Regions from separate parts of the Homo sapiens genome. Here region 2 is linked to region 1. The links are contacts of gene promoters, found by promoter capture Hi-C in blood cells and fetal thymus (Javierre and others, 2016). All regions are on one chromosome and are shown on one strand. The core of a region is centred on a gene start or on the middle of the fragment in contact, and the rest is flanking DNA. Distances in the headings are between cores, read along the strand shown. Region 1 holds the start of DYNLL2 (dynein light chain LC8-type 2). Region 2 overlaps AKAP1 (A-kinase anchoring protein 1).

What was found. The method cuts DNA at HindIII sites, captures the fragments that hold promoters and counts their contacts. A CHiCAGO score of 5 or more calls a contact.
Region 2: a contact is called between a fragment that was not itself captured here and the fragment with the promoter of DYNLL2 in region 1, in 1 of 17 cell types (naive B cells). The highest score is 5.0, in naive B cells.

Annotation. Positions count from the first base shown.
Region 1 is chr17:58,081,102-58,087,503 of GRCh38, reverse strand. It overlaps DYNLL2 (dynein light chain LC8-type 2), which reads right to left and starts at 4,085. Exons shown (of 3, transcript NM_080677.3): 1 at 3,821-4,085; 2 at 282-422. The coding sequence starts at 413. It overlaps DYNLL2-DT (DYNLL2 divergent transcript), which reads left to right and starts at 4,300. Exons shown (of 3, transcript NR_110809.1): 1 at 4,300-4,788; 2 at 4,888-6,402. RefSeq lists silencers at 3,296-3,425, 3,466-3,885, 3,926-3,985, 3,996-4,345 and an enhancer at 4,062-4,356. The HindIII fragment of the contact is 13,862 bases long and covers 579-6,402 here.
Region 2 is chr17:57,118,401-57,124,802 of GRCh38, reverse strand. It overlaps AKAP1 (A-kinase anchoring protein 1), which reads right to left. Exons shown (of 11, transcript NM_003488.4): 9 at 6,349-6,402; 10 at 5,759-5,821; 11 at 3,459-4,553. The coding sequence ends at 4,479. Among named protein-coding and RNA genes, the nearest start is that of AKAP1, 36 kb to the right of the region's middle. The HindIII fragment of the contact is 1,998 bases long and covers 2,582-4,579 here.

The sequences.
Region 1 (6,402 bases), core at 2,836-5,335:
AATCTTATCCTTCCCCAATGCCTTGCAGTAGCATAATTACCTGTAAAAGTAAACATACACACACACACACACACACACCTGGCAGAGCTATTAACAACTCCTAAGGTGAATGCTTGGGCAATTCGGAATCACTCGCTAGTTTGTCTGCTTTGCAAGTTCCTAGGGTTTTGCTTGCACAGGATATACGGGCTTTCTTATGTCCCCAGCTCCAGATCTCCCTGGAGGTTAGCTCAGCTGTCGATCCCCACCCCTGGCCATCAGTCCCAGCTCTCCCAGCACACCTTCTTGATATAGGCAGCAATGTCCTTCTCTATATTGTACTTCTCCATGGCCTGCGTGGCGCAGTCAACGGCATCCTGTTGCATGTCCTCAGACATGTCTGCGTTCTTGATCACTGCCTTCCGGTCAGACATGGTGTGACACTACAGAAGGAGCAGAGAGGTAAGGCTGACAACTCCTTGCTCTGGGCAGTGAACATTAGCTGCTGGGTGTGGGGTCTCAGTGCAAGAGGGGAGTATAGAAGGTGAGGGCAACAGAAAACACGGATGTGAAGCATTAGGAGAGGGAGCCCCTAAGCTTTGGCAGAGACATTGTTCCCACCCTGGGAAATACAGGGCCAATAGGACATAATAACTCATCAGTTTTTATCATAAGTAAAATGAGATTTTCCAACTCTAAAATTTACTTCCGATATTCTGAAGAGCACCAATAGTCAAGATTATATTACAGTGTACATCTACTAGCTGTGTCGTTGGGCAAGTTACTTAATCCTTGTGTTTTTATGTCATTATCTGTAAAATGGGGACTAAGGGTTGTCCTGAGAATAAACCAGGTGTCCTAACATTTGAACAGAATTAAGTCCCTGATTTAATGACCATTCATTACATCATTGGCATCATAGCAGAAAGAAGCTGGACTAGGACTCAGTAGGCCTGACTCCTGGTCCTGAGTTTATCTCTCGTGGTCTTAGACAAGTCACTTGGCCTTCCTACATTTGATTATTTTCATTTTAGCAGGTGAGGATAGCTCTCTATCGCGAGTTGTTGTAAAGATTAACTGAAGTTATATGAGAGCATCTGCACACAAGGACAGTCTACAAGGGACTGTCCATCAGCCAGATCCAGCCTACCACCTGTTTTTGTAAAATAAAGTGTTGCAGGAACATGCTACGATAGCAGAGTTGAGTACTTCCAAGAAACTATTTGGCCTGCAAAGCCAAAAATATTTCCTATCTGGCCCTTCACAGAAAAATGCTGCCAACCCCTGCCCTATACAGGCCCTATTCCAGGCCACCAATGTCCAGTGGGGCAGAGATAATGATAATTATGCCTTCTCTCAAGTACTCCAGGCTGAGATGCCCGTAAGAGGTAGAGAGGGTGGGAAGGCAACCTCAGACTTGGCTGGTCGGTCACACAGGACATGTCTCTCTCTGTCCCATCCTCCCCTCTGCTTCCCCACTCTCCTCAGTACAATGTTCATTCTTTAAAGCCCAATATAATTTTTGAAAGCCCTAGATTTTGGACCCAGCTTCAACACTGATTTCTCATCTCTTTGGTGCGTTGCTTCCTCATGTCAAACTTATTCATTCATTCAAAAAGTACTGACCTATTAGGTGATGTGAAAGGTATTATGTTAGGAGACAATATCTTATTTTCCTCAAAGGAATGCTGAAGCCTTCCTTCCCCTAAAAAAACAGAGGCTTGGGAAAAACCTGGAGATAAAGCATTTTAAAAAGGTGCCTAAGAAAGGTAAAGATTTTAATAGCCTTGTTTCATATCCCTGCTATCAAGGCCATGCCATTCATGCCATAGCAACCACAGGTTCCAGGCAGACCCTGCATGGACCCTTCTTGGGACGAGCGGAATCTCAGGACGTGCCTGACAGGTGGCAACATGTGAGGTACTATGCAGGAACAGAGGGGATGAGCCCTTTGTCCTTGACCACAGTCCCAACACATGGAGCAGTAACTATCTCCCCCATCATCCCACCCCTAAAAGCACCCCTCTGTGGCCCAGCCCAATGGACAAGAGATGCTGTCATTCCAGCTCTATCTGATGGAAGGCTACACAGGAGGCTGCCTGCTCAAGGACATATCCTTGGTATCATTCCAGGCCACCTTGATCTCGGAGTTCACAATAGCCTGTGGGCTAGATGGCTGAAAGGGAAAACAGAACTCACCACCACCATTTCAGCCTGCACCACATGCAGAGAATGCACACATGCCAGCTGCCAGCCAGGCAGCCCTTGACCGCATCCAAGGCCCCTTCATCTAGATAGCACTGCCAAACTAAGCAGGGCTGGTTCCACTTCGGCAGAAACTGGCAGAGCAAAGAGGTAGTAGACCAGCACCCTCTGCCCCCACATTCTGGAGAGGAAAAGTCAGAGCCTCAACTGGAGTCTGTGAGCACCATGTGGTGCTGAGGAAAGATTCGGAGAACCCTGTTCAAGGAATGACTAGTTACGTGACCTTGGGCAAATCAACATCTTCATTTTAAATACTAATGGTTGAAATGAGATAAATGGGGTAAACTCAAATGGGTCTGAGCAAAGGTACAACAGCAGCACAGGGAGAAAGGTTCTTACATTATAAGGCTCTGTATAAGTGAAGAAAAACTAGTGTCACCTGGTGGCCTATTCCAGGTTACCACTCAGAAGGGGGCACTGTTTACAAACCCAGGGGTGGGGGTGGGGCCTGGTTAGACAGCAAAGTGAAAGTATGAAATTGGCACCATTTTGCCTGCAAGCTCACCTGCTCCACTGCCTCATTCCCAAAGTCCAAAGGAGCAACTTTGTTACAGTAATTAAAAGCCACCTTACTCTCCAGGAAAGAGCCTGCGGTTACATAATATTGGTCTTACGACTACAATGGCCCCCCAGGCATCTGAGAGAGGTGAAGCCCAACCCCTACCACCCCTGTCCAAGGTGCCGGTAAGCAAAGCACAGGAAGGTGTCCAGCCTAGCCCCTCCCTCCTTGGGAAAAAGCAAGGGACCTGGGCCTCCAGATAGGAGGAAGATGGCCAGAGGGCCCCAGGCCAGCAGCCTCAGTCACGAGCCAAGGCTCCTGTGAAAAGCACAAAGGGCACCCCAGGACAGCTCCCATCCTCTATTCCTGGTTTTGCAACCAAAAAAAAAGGCTAAATCTCCGAATGACACGGACCACCATCCCCACCCGCCAATACACACACACTTCTACTTCCCTCTTCGGGCTCTCCAAGTGGGCCGTATCCCTCCACTATCCCATCCTCCAGAGCGCTGCGGTCCCGAAGGGCAGCACCTGGGGAACGAGGAAGCATCCTCCTTCCCCCCGACCTCCCGCCCGCGCCGCCGGCCAGGTCCGCAGGCCCCGGCCGGTCGGCCGCCCTCCCCCACCCGGCCTGGAACAGCGCCGGAGTGACTGGGCGTCCTCGCTGCAGGAAGGACGCCCCAGAGGGTGGCGGTGGCGGCAGGAGGAGCCGCGTCACGCCCGAGCCCTCTCCACCCCCTCTTCCCCGGCCCCTGACATCAGGGGCCTCCACGCAGCGCAGAGAGACTCCCGGGGGCGGGGGCAGCGGCAGCTCCGCAGCCCGGGCCTCCAGCAGCGCCACGAGGGTGGCCGGGGCAAAGGGTGGCGCAGCCCGGGCTGCGCCGAGAGGGAGGGGCGGCGGGGGCGCGCTGCGCTGCCCGGACCGTCAACGCCAAGGGCTGCGGGGCCAGCCCTGTTCCAGGCCTTGGGGCCGGCTAAGGAGGCCGCAGGGCCACCGCGGCGAGGGCCGGGTCGTGTAGAGTCGCACGCGACGGACACAGGCCCGCCACCCGGGGGACGCCCCCACCCACCGCTCACCTTCACGGAGGCGAGTCCGCACTGGGCCCTGGGGAGGAGCGATGGCCCGAGGCAGAGCACAGGCAGGGGCGGTGTTCCCTGGGCTCCTCCTGCAGCTGCAGCAGCCGCCGCCGCCGCGGTCTCCGGCTCCCGCAGCCCGAGGCCGATCGCTCCCTGCCGCGGTCCGCCCTTGGAGTTTCGCCGGCCGCCCGCGCTCCGCCTCACGCCGCCCGCCCGCCCGCCCGCTCCGCACTGGCGCCTCACAGCTCCGCTCCGCTCTGCCGCTGAGCGCGGCCGACGCGCGGCCCCCGCTGAAATAGTGCCCCGCCCCCGCCCCCCCGCCGCGCGCGCCGCCGTCCGCGCTCCCCATTGGCTGAGCCCGCCCGGCCCCGCACTGCGGGCTTCTCCCCGCGCCGCTCTCGCCCCACATCTTGTTTCCTCCCACAATGCCTCGGGGCGGAGGGAGGGGGTGGGGAGGAGGAGCTGGAGCGGGTGGGGGAGGGAGCCGTGGCCTTAAGAAAGGAGAGGAATGCGGACCCCTCCCCCCGGGGCTGGAGAGGCCAGGCCTGAAAAGGAATAAAGAGACATGGTCCTGAGAGAGGAGGAGAGGGAAGGGTGTGGAGACCCCCAGTCCCAAGGAGAAAAAAGGGAGAGGGGGATGGAGATTTCAGACCCAGGGAACAGATGGGGCTGAGGTAGAGACCCCAACCTTAGAGAGGGGAGGAGATGAAGTCACCAGCCTCAGAGGAAAAGACAGGACACTCCCTCCTCCCGTATCTGTGAGAAAGAGAGGGACAGCCAGCCCTATGGAGAGGGAGAGGCATAGGAGCCCCAGGACTCCCTCCCCTCACCTTCCGGGAAGGTCCCTTCTTCCTCCTTTGTTCTTTGAGGCTGAAGGACCTAAACTCCCAGCTGGGCCCCCAGCCGGTATTTGTCTACAGGAGCAATGGAGACAGAGCCGAAGCAAAATTGATGGGGATGTGTCTTTGGTACGCAGGCCTCTGCTGTCCTTGCACATTTATGGCCTTGGGGTCCTGGGATGGGGGTGAGAGTGAGCGATTTCTTGTCGTCTGTCCCTGCCTGTCCAGGTAGACAAGGTTGGAGGAGAGTGAATAGAAGCCCCCAGAGGTGGTGCCTGTCAGAGCTGTGAGGAGCCTTCAAAAACCACCCATCCACACCCCTCACTTTATAAAGGAGAGAATCCAAGTACAGAGAGCCCTGCCAGATCCCGCAGGTCAGGCTTGACTTGCTTCTAGCTGAAAAGAGGTGCACCCAGGAAGCAGCCCCTCTGGAGGCTCAAGAGACTACTTCTGGGAGAGTGGGTGTGAACGTGCGCGTTGGGAGCCTGCCTGCCCTCACTCCATCCCACTCCCAGGAAAGATCCTCAGGCCTGCGGTTTTCTTTCTGGTCTGTTTTATACAGAAGTGTCTACCTCAAGGGCTGACGAGCCTTTATTGGGAACCAAGCATTTTGGCCATACAGTAGGGATTAAGAAGCTGCCGGGGATAGCTCCCACTCCCATCTTTTCCCCTTCGCCTCTCCAAACCATGGTCAGGAAGTCAGACTTGCCCTGGCCCTGGCCTGCTCTGGTTTGAAGCATCAAAAGTTAGTGTTCGTTATGTGTCAGGGGAAACCTGGAAAAATCATTCCCTCTGGTTACTGCTTTCCACAGTTCTGTCCTCTAACAACCTCAGTTGGGGGATTTCAGAGACCAGTTAAGGCCTGGGGTATCCCCTCACACTAAGGGTTTTCTGATGTCAGTCTTTGTGTTCATGAATGGGAGGCGTGGCCTCTATGGGAGGAAGGGAGGGAGACGAGGAAGGATGATTTATACACTTAGGGCTTGTGCGGGGCTAATCGCCTGGACTGCCTGGAGAAAGCGAAGCTAGTACCCCCTTTCTCCAACAGTCCTTAGTTTCCAGGCCCTTCCAGGGCCTGAAGGTCAGATCTGCCACGTATGGTTGCACAGGTCATTCACTGCGCAAGAGTATCCAACCGATGGAGCAAGCGGGTGCTAAAATACAGCCGGCACACTGCTTGCTAGCCTGTGTGTCACGGTACAAGCCAGTGTCCAACCAGAAGATGACTTCTTTCAAGTGTTCCCAAGGGTTACTATGAGCTAGCAGTGGCCCTTCAAAGGCCATGCTGCCAGGGCATAAATCCTCCCTCTCCCTGCTCCCCTTCCCTGAAGTATAATAGGGATAAGAGCTTGCTCATTTCCAGGCTGTGGTGTGGTGGACAGAAGGGCACGAAGAACTTCAACTAACAGAAGTCAGAGCCACGGGTTTTCACTTTTAGGAAATGTGAATATCAGTGCTCTTGTGTGTGTGTGTGTGTGTGTCAAGGACTAAACTGTAGAATAACAGGGAGATGTGTTAATAGTATGGTTTATAAATAATAATAAGTAATCCTCATGAATCCCTTGCTCTATGTCAGGCTCTATTCTAAGTGTTTTAAATGCAATGCGTTCCATTTAATCCCAGAAGCTGCCTTTTGAAGTGCATATATGACTATCACCCTGTACAGATGAGCAAACTACAGTTTAGAGAAGTTCAGTAACTGACCCAAGATTATCCAGTTTGTCAGCGGCAGGATTCAACTCC
Region 2 (6,402 bases), core at 2,331-4,830, 960 kb after region 1:
GTAATCCCAGCACTTTGGGGGCTGAGGCAGCGGAGATCGCTTGAGGCCAGGAGATCAAGACCAGCCTGGGCAACATGGCAAGACCTCATCTCTACAAAAACAATGAAAAAACAAATTAGTTCGGTGTGGTGGCATGCGCCTGTGCTCCCAGCTGCTCAGGAGGCTGAGGAGGGAGGATTGCTTGAGTCAGGGAGTTCGAGGCTGCAATGAGCTGACTGCACCACTGCACTCCAGTCTGGGCAGCAGATCGAGACCCTGTATTTAAAAAAAAAAAAAAAACCAGGGAAGGAGAGGGCGAGAAAGGAAAACAATAAATTCAAATATTTTACACACCCAACTTCATAGATTATATAAAACTTTATACCAACTCAATAGCGTGCATTATTTTCAAATACCAATAGAATATTTAGTATGGCCCCCTTCCCTGCAAAATGATTCTAAAGTTCATCTGGAAAAATAAATGTGCAAAAGGACATACAACTTTTTGAATAAGGAAGAACATAAATAAGGCTGTCAGTATCAGTGTGATAGTGATCAATGGAATAGTCCAGGCCTACACTGTCCAACGTGATAGCCACAAGCCACACGTGGCTATCATGCCCTTGAAATGTGGCCGGCCTGAACAGAGATATGCTGAAGTGTCAAATGCACACTGGACTTAGTAGGAAAAACACTGTAAAACAACTCCTTAATGTTTCATATCCATTACATGCTGAAATGATATGACTTAAAGTATTATGAAAATTAATTTCATCTGTTTCTTTGCACTTTTTAACTGTGGCTCCTAGAAAGTTTTAAATTACAGATGTGGCTCACATATTTCTATTGGCCACTGCTGGTCTAGGAACAGACCCAGATTTTCCATCCACATCCTTTATGATATTTCCCAATGGAAACTTAGAGATTTGTCTTGGGTTTTTTCTTTGTTTTGATTTTTTGAGACAGTCTGGCTCTGTCACCCAGGCTGGAGTCCAGTGGTGTGATCTCAGCTCACTGCAACCTCCGCCTTCTAGGTTCCAGCGATTCTCCTGTCTCAGCTTCCCAAGTAGCTGGGATTACAGGTGCGTGCCACCATGTCATTTTTCTTGTAGAGATGGGGTTTTTGCTATGTTGGCCTGGCTGGTCTCGAACTCCTGGCCTCAAGTGATCCACCCAATTCAGCCTCCTGAAATGCTGGGATTACAGGCGCGATCCACCGTGCCTGGCCAGTTTTCCTTGTTTTACGTTATCACGGATTCAAAACGTCCACTCTCTGGCCCTAGCTGCTGCAGGTGTCTCTTGGCTTTATGTTACTTAAGATTTAAATTTTCCATAAAAGCAAAATCATTGATCTCTCTTGTCATGGTATCTTTCCCACTCTAAGTTCCAAAGCTTTTCCATGGACTGATCATTTAATCACTGTGGCATTTATTTGGGGATGTGGACTGGGGCAAGATGAATCCACGCTGCTTTAGGGGTGGTGGTGAAGAGCACCTGGCCTGGGGTAGCAGCCTGGTTTTTAGTTTCAGCTCTGCTCTATCCACGAACCACTTTCCAAAATCACCATCTTCTACCTCTTGGGTCTGCTCATCTACGGAGTCCCTGCCTCCCTGGGTTGTGTCAAGGACTCAGTGTTACCTGTAAAAGAGACAGCACCTGACACAGTAAGCACTCCCTAACTCTAGCTACAACTCTCATTTTATCTTAGAACTGACATTAGTTATCGTCTGACAGATGTTGATGTCTACAAGTGGCATACCTGAAGTTGTACAAGGTATAGCAGTAACCCTAAAACCCAGCCTCCATGGTGATGCCCCAGAGACCAGAGGGGCAGTACTGACACCAATGCCTATAATGAGAACAGGGTGGAAGCTCTAGCCTCCTGCATCCAGCATTCCACCCCTCTCCCCTACACCCTGGGCAGATTGCCAGATCTCTTGCCAGCACTGGCTTCTCCCGTGAGTTTCCAATTCACACCAAGACATCCCCTGGATGCCCCACAGGTAATTAAAAGAGGGCGTCTCAAATGCACTTGCCCGGGCAGCTGACTTGCAGAGGGATGGAGCGAGGACCTTCATAAATCTGCTCCTCCTTAAGAACAATGAGATTTCTGGCAAAATGGTTAAAAGTCAAGTTTTTCAGAACTCTGGAAATTAATCAAAGGCAACAATCTGAGAAGCATTTATTCGAGGAGTACAAGTCCTTCACCAGCCTCCAACTTGCTCTTCCTCCAGCATTCCAAACCGAGTTTAATGGAGGCACCCTTGCAGGGTAGGACTCTAAGGCGTGGGAGTCCCGGGTAGCAGCCCATCCCACTCATCAAAGCCCAAGGGGCTTTATCTGAGGATCCTGACTTCATCACGTCTTGTCTGTCCCAGGCTCCATCCCAGGGGAATCCCTTTTTTCTCATGTCTACACCTCCACCTCACCCACCCTTCTCCCTGCACCAGAAGCATGTTTTAATGTTTGAAACCCCTCAATGGTTCCCTGGAGATAAAAGCTAAATCTGCACACCAGGCTCTGTGAGCATTCCCTAAGTTAGTCGGAAGGCTTCCGTAGACCTTTTCATGCTCCAGCAATGCTGGATTATAGAGGAAAAGCTTAGACCTGGGTGTATGGTGACCTGGCCAAAGTCACACCCAATTCCTGCCAGGACTTAAAGCCAATAGTGGCTAAGGAACTGCAGGGGAGCTCCCTGGGACCAAGCACTGTAGAAGCAGAGGGCATTTCCATGATTAAATTGCCTTATGAGGTTATCTCATCTTACAGATGAGGGAAACAGAGGCTGTTAACCACACAGGCGAGAACCTGGATGGAGGGGAAGATGGGCACCTGACAATGGCCACAGCTCAGGCTTGGCCAGGACAGAGACGGAAAGAACAAGCCAGCTGGGTTGGAACTGGGAGGAGCTCCCAGGAGTGGGTGTGCGGTGGGAGGATATCTCCAATCAGAATGACCCTCAGGCTACGTCAGCTCTCTAAAAACTAGAGCTCAAGCTCAACAGCCCTGCAGCCAGAGGCCTCAAACGTAGGGGGCAGGGGCGGGGCACTGGGGTAGGCCTGGGCTGCAGTGGCCAGCCTTCTTTAAGAGCAGGGGCTATTAAATTGAGGCAGTATCTCATCCCATAACTTACATGTATTTTTTACATCATTCTTATCACTACAGTAAATTAAATAACTTCACGAATCTATTAAGAATGACAACCAAAGAAGGCACAACCCGTTTTGGAAGCCAGTGCTTTAAACTGAGTCTGGCCAGTTAACATGCAGTGAAGAAGTCGGAGGACGCTTGGCTGCCACCTGGTGGGACAAGGAGAGAGAGGAAAAGGCCAGATAGAAATTTCTGGCCAAATTGTCTTCAAAAAACCATGGGTCTCCTGCAGAGGCAGTTGTGTGGGGCCTGTGATCCAGCTCGCCACACTCACCACCCCCCCCCCGCCAATTCTTCACCACTGGAAAAAAATGGACTCAAAGCTGCAGTTCATACAATTGAAGATTTATGTAAGTTACTTACTTATTTTTAAACTGCACAATGCTGAAGCCAGTCTAAAAAAGAATCAAACACACCACTGCAAGTTAATTCAATGAGTTACTTTTTTTTTTTTTTAAACAGATTTGTACAGCAAAAAGTTCCCAGATCACAGTCTCTACCATACAGTCACCTGTCCAGTGTGCAGGAAGCCACAGGGGCCCTGGCCAGAGGGGCCAAGAGCAGAAGCTGCACTGCAGAGTTTACTTCTACCTACAGGTGACATGTGGCTGGAAGAATCTTGAGTTCCCTTTGTTCTCCAGTGTATCTTGTACAAAATATTACATTTGTTTAAACACATATTTACAGAGTTTGCACAAATAGAAAATGGTTACAAATTACAACCAGGCTTGGCAGGATACCAGTTCCCCTCCCCACTGACCAAGGTCAGATGTGATGACCATTTCATATTTACAGTTGCAATTTAAAAAGTCTGTGTTTAGAGACCTAAATGAAGTTTATAAAAACTGGTTAAATATCATCAACTCATTTATGTAAGCTGTACAAGTAGTGGATACCAATTAGTCAGTTCATGTCTTGCTCCCTGAAGAAAGATTTTGAAGTAAAAGAAACCCTCTCAAGCAAGCAACATACATCCCTGGCCTGTCTGCCAGTTTGTTTGGTTTTTGCCGGGGAAGGAGATAGAAGGAAGAAGAGGGGAATGGAACAGGGGGAATAGGACAATCTGGTTGAAACTGTTTCTATTCCTTTTTTTTTTTTTTTTTAAACAGCTGAGAACCAGCATAAGCCAGCTGGCTTGTTAAACACTATCCTTTGGCTTTGCGAAGAGAACCCATAGTTCCATCCTTTTTTCTCAGAGACGAAATGTCTTCTCAATAGGACTACAGTATGGAGAAAGAAAGGACTTTCTGGAGAGGACAATGTTTGTTATTCCGATGTTCATCTTTGACTTGAGTGCCAAGCCCAATTTCAACAGTGCAAAAAAAGACTCTCAGGAAGCAGCATGGGGGTCAAAGGCTTGTGTAGTAGCTGTCTACCCACTGGGCAAGGCCTCGCTCCACCAGGGACCGGTTTATCAACACCACCTAGAAAAGAAAGTTCCCTTAAAGCTTTTGTCCATGGCATCCTGGGGCCATCTCCCTAGCCAACATGAGTTCTCCCCTCCCCGGTTGCCACTGCAGGCAACAGATGTATGAGAGTAACAGTGTAGGCCAGACGCAGTGGCTCATGCCTGTAATCCTAGCATTTTGGGAGGCTGAGGCAGGTGGATCACCTGAGGTCAGGAGTTCGAGACCAGCCTGGCCAACATGGTGAAACCCCGTCTCTATTAAACATACAAAAATTAGCCAGGTGTGGTGGCAGGCACCTGTAATCCCAGTTACTGAGGCTGAAGCAGAATCGCTTGAACCCCGGAGGCGGAGGTTACAGTGAGCCAAGATCACGCCACTGCACTCCAGCCTGGATAACAAGAGCAAGACTGTCTCAAAAAAAAAAAAAAAAAAAAGAGTAACAGGGTGGGGGACATGGCTTATGCTCTAGCCAACAGGAACATTTATTTAAGTATTCTGTTGGCTGCTGTGGCATAAGGATAGGGTTTTTTTGTTTTTGTTTTTGTTTTTTGAGACAGAGTCTTGCTCTGTCACCCAGGCTGGAGTGCAGTGGCACAATGTTGGTTCACTGCAACCTCCGTCTCCCAGGTTCAAGTGATTCTCCTGCCTCAGCCTCCCAAGCAGCTGGGATCACAGGTGTGCATCACCACACCCAGCAGATTTTTGCATTTTTAGTAGAGATGGGGGTTTCGCCATGTTGGCCAGGCTGGTCTCAAACTCCTGACCTCAAGTGATCTGCCCGTCTCGGCCTCCCAAAGTGCTGGGATTACAGGGGTGAGCCACTGTACCTGGCCAGGATAGGCTTTTTAATATGCTGAAGAAATCTAAGCTTTCATACCATAAGATAGAGGACAGAAAAACTCAACAGACAGAAGGTCCCAGAAAGTCTCGCACAGGGTTTCTCCACCTTGGCGCTATTGACATTTGCGGTTGGATAATTATTTGCTGTGGGGGGCTGTCCTGAATACTATGGGATGTTTAGTGGCATCCTTGGCCTCTACCCACTAGAGGACACTGACATCACCACTGCCAATCAGGACATCCAAAGTGTTCCCTAGGAGGTGCTTGTCTACAGTTATATCCTCTGATTAACTCAAGAGGAAACAAATCCCAGGACCAGCTCCTAATCAATCCATTACTTCGGGCCAGCAACACAGAAGGAAAAGAAGGGCAGAACTTACTTCATCTCCAACCACACTCCACAGCTGAATCAGAGGAAGACCAGTTGGACTGTAACTTGTCACCTGAAGAAGGGGGGTGGAAAGAATAATATGGTTAGGTTTTGTGTCCCCACTCAAATATCATCTTGAATTGTCATCTCCATAATCCCCATGTGTCGAGGGAGAGACCTGGTGGGAGGTGATTGGATCATGAGGCGGTGTGCCCATGCTGTTCTCGTCATAGTGAGTTCTCATGAGATCTGATGGTTTTATAAGTATCTGACAGTTCCTCCTTCACATACTGTCTCTTGCCTGCCCATCATGTAAGACGTGCCTCTTCCCTTTCTGCCATGATTGTAAGTTTCCTGAGGTCTCCCCAGGCCCGCAGAATTGTGAGTCAATTACACCTCTTTCCTTTATAGATTATTCAGTCCCAGGTATTTCTTTACAGCAATGTGAGAACAGACTAATATCAAGTATTAGCTACTTCATGCACCTTTCCTTAAATACTGCTGGTCAATCCAGGGCCAAGCCACAGGAAAGAAGGCATTGAAAGGTCAGTTCCCAAGAACCCAGCCAGCCTGCCTCCCCCACCCCTGCCAACCACACACCTGAGCAAGCAGTGCTGTATTCCCCGTCATCTCGCTCATGGCGGCATCTGCTTC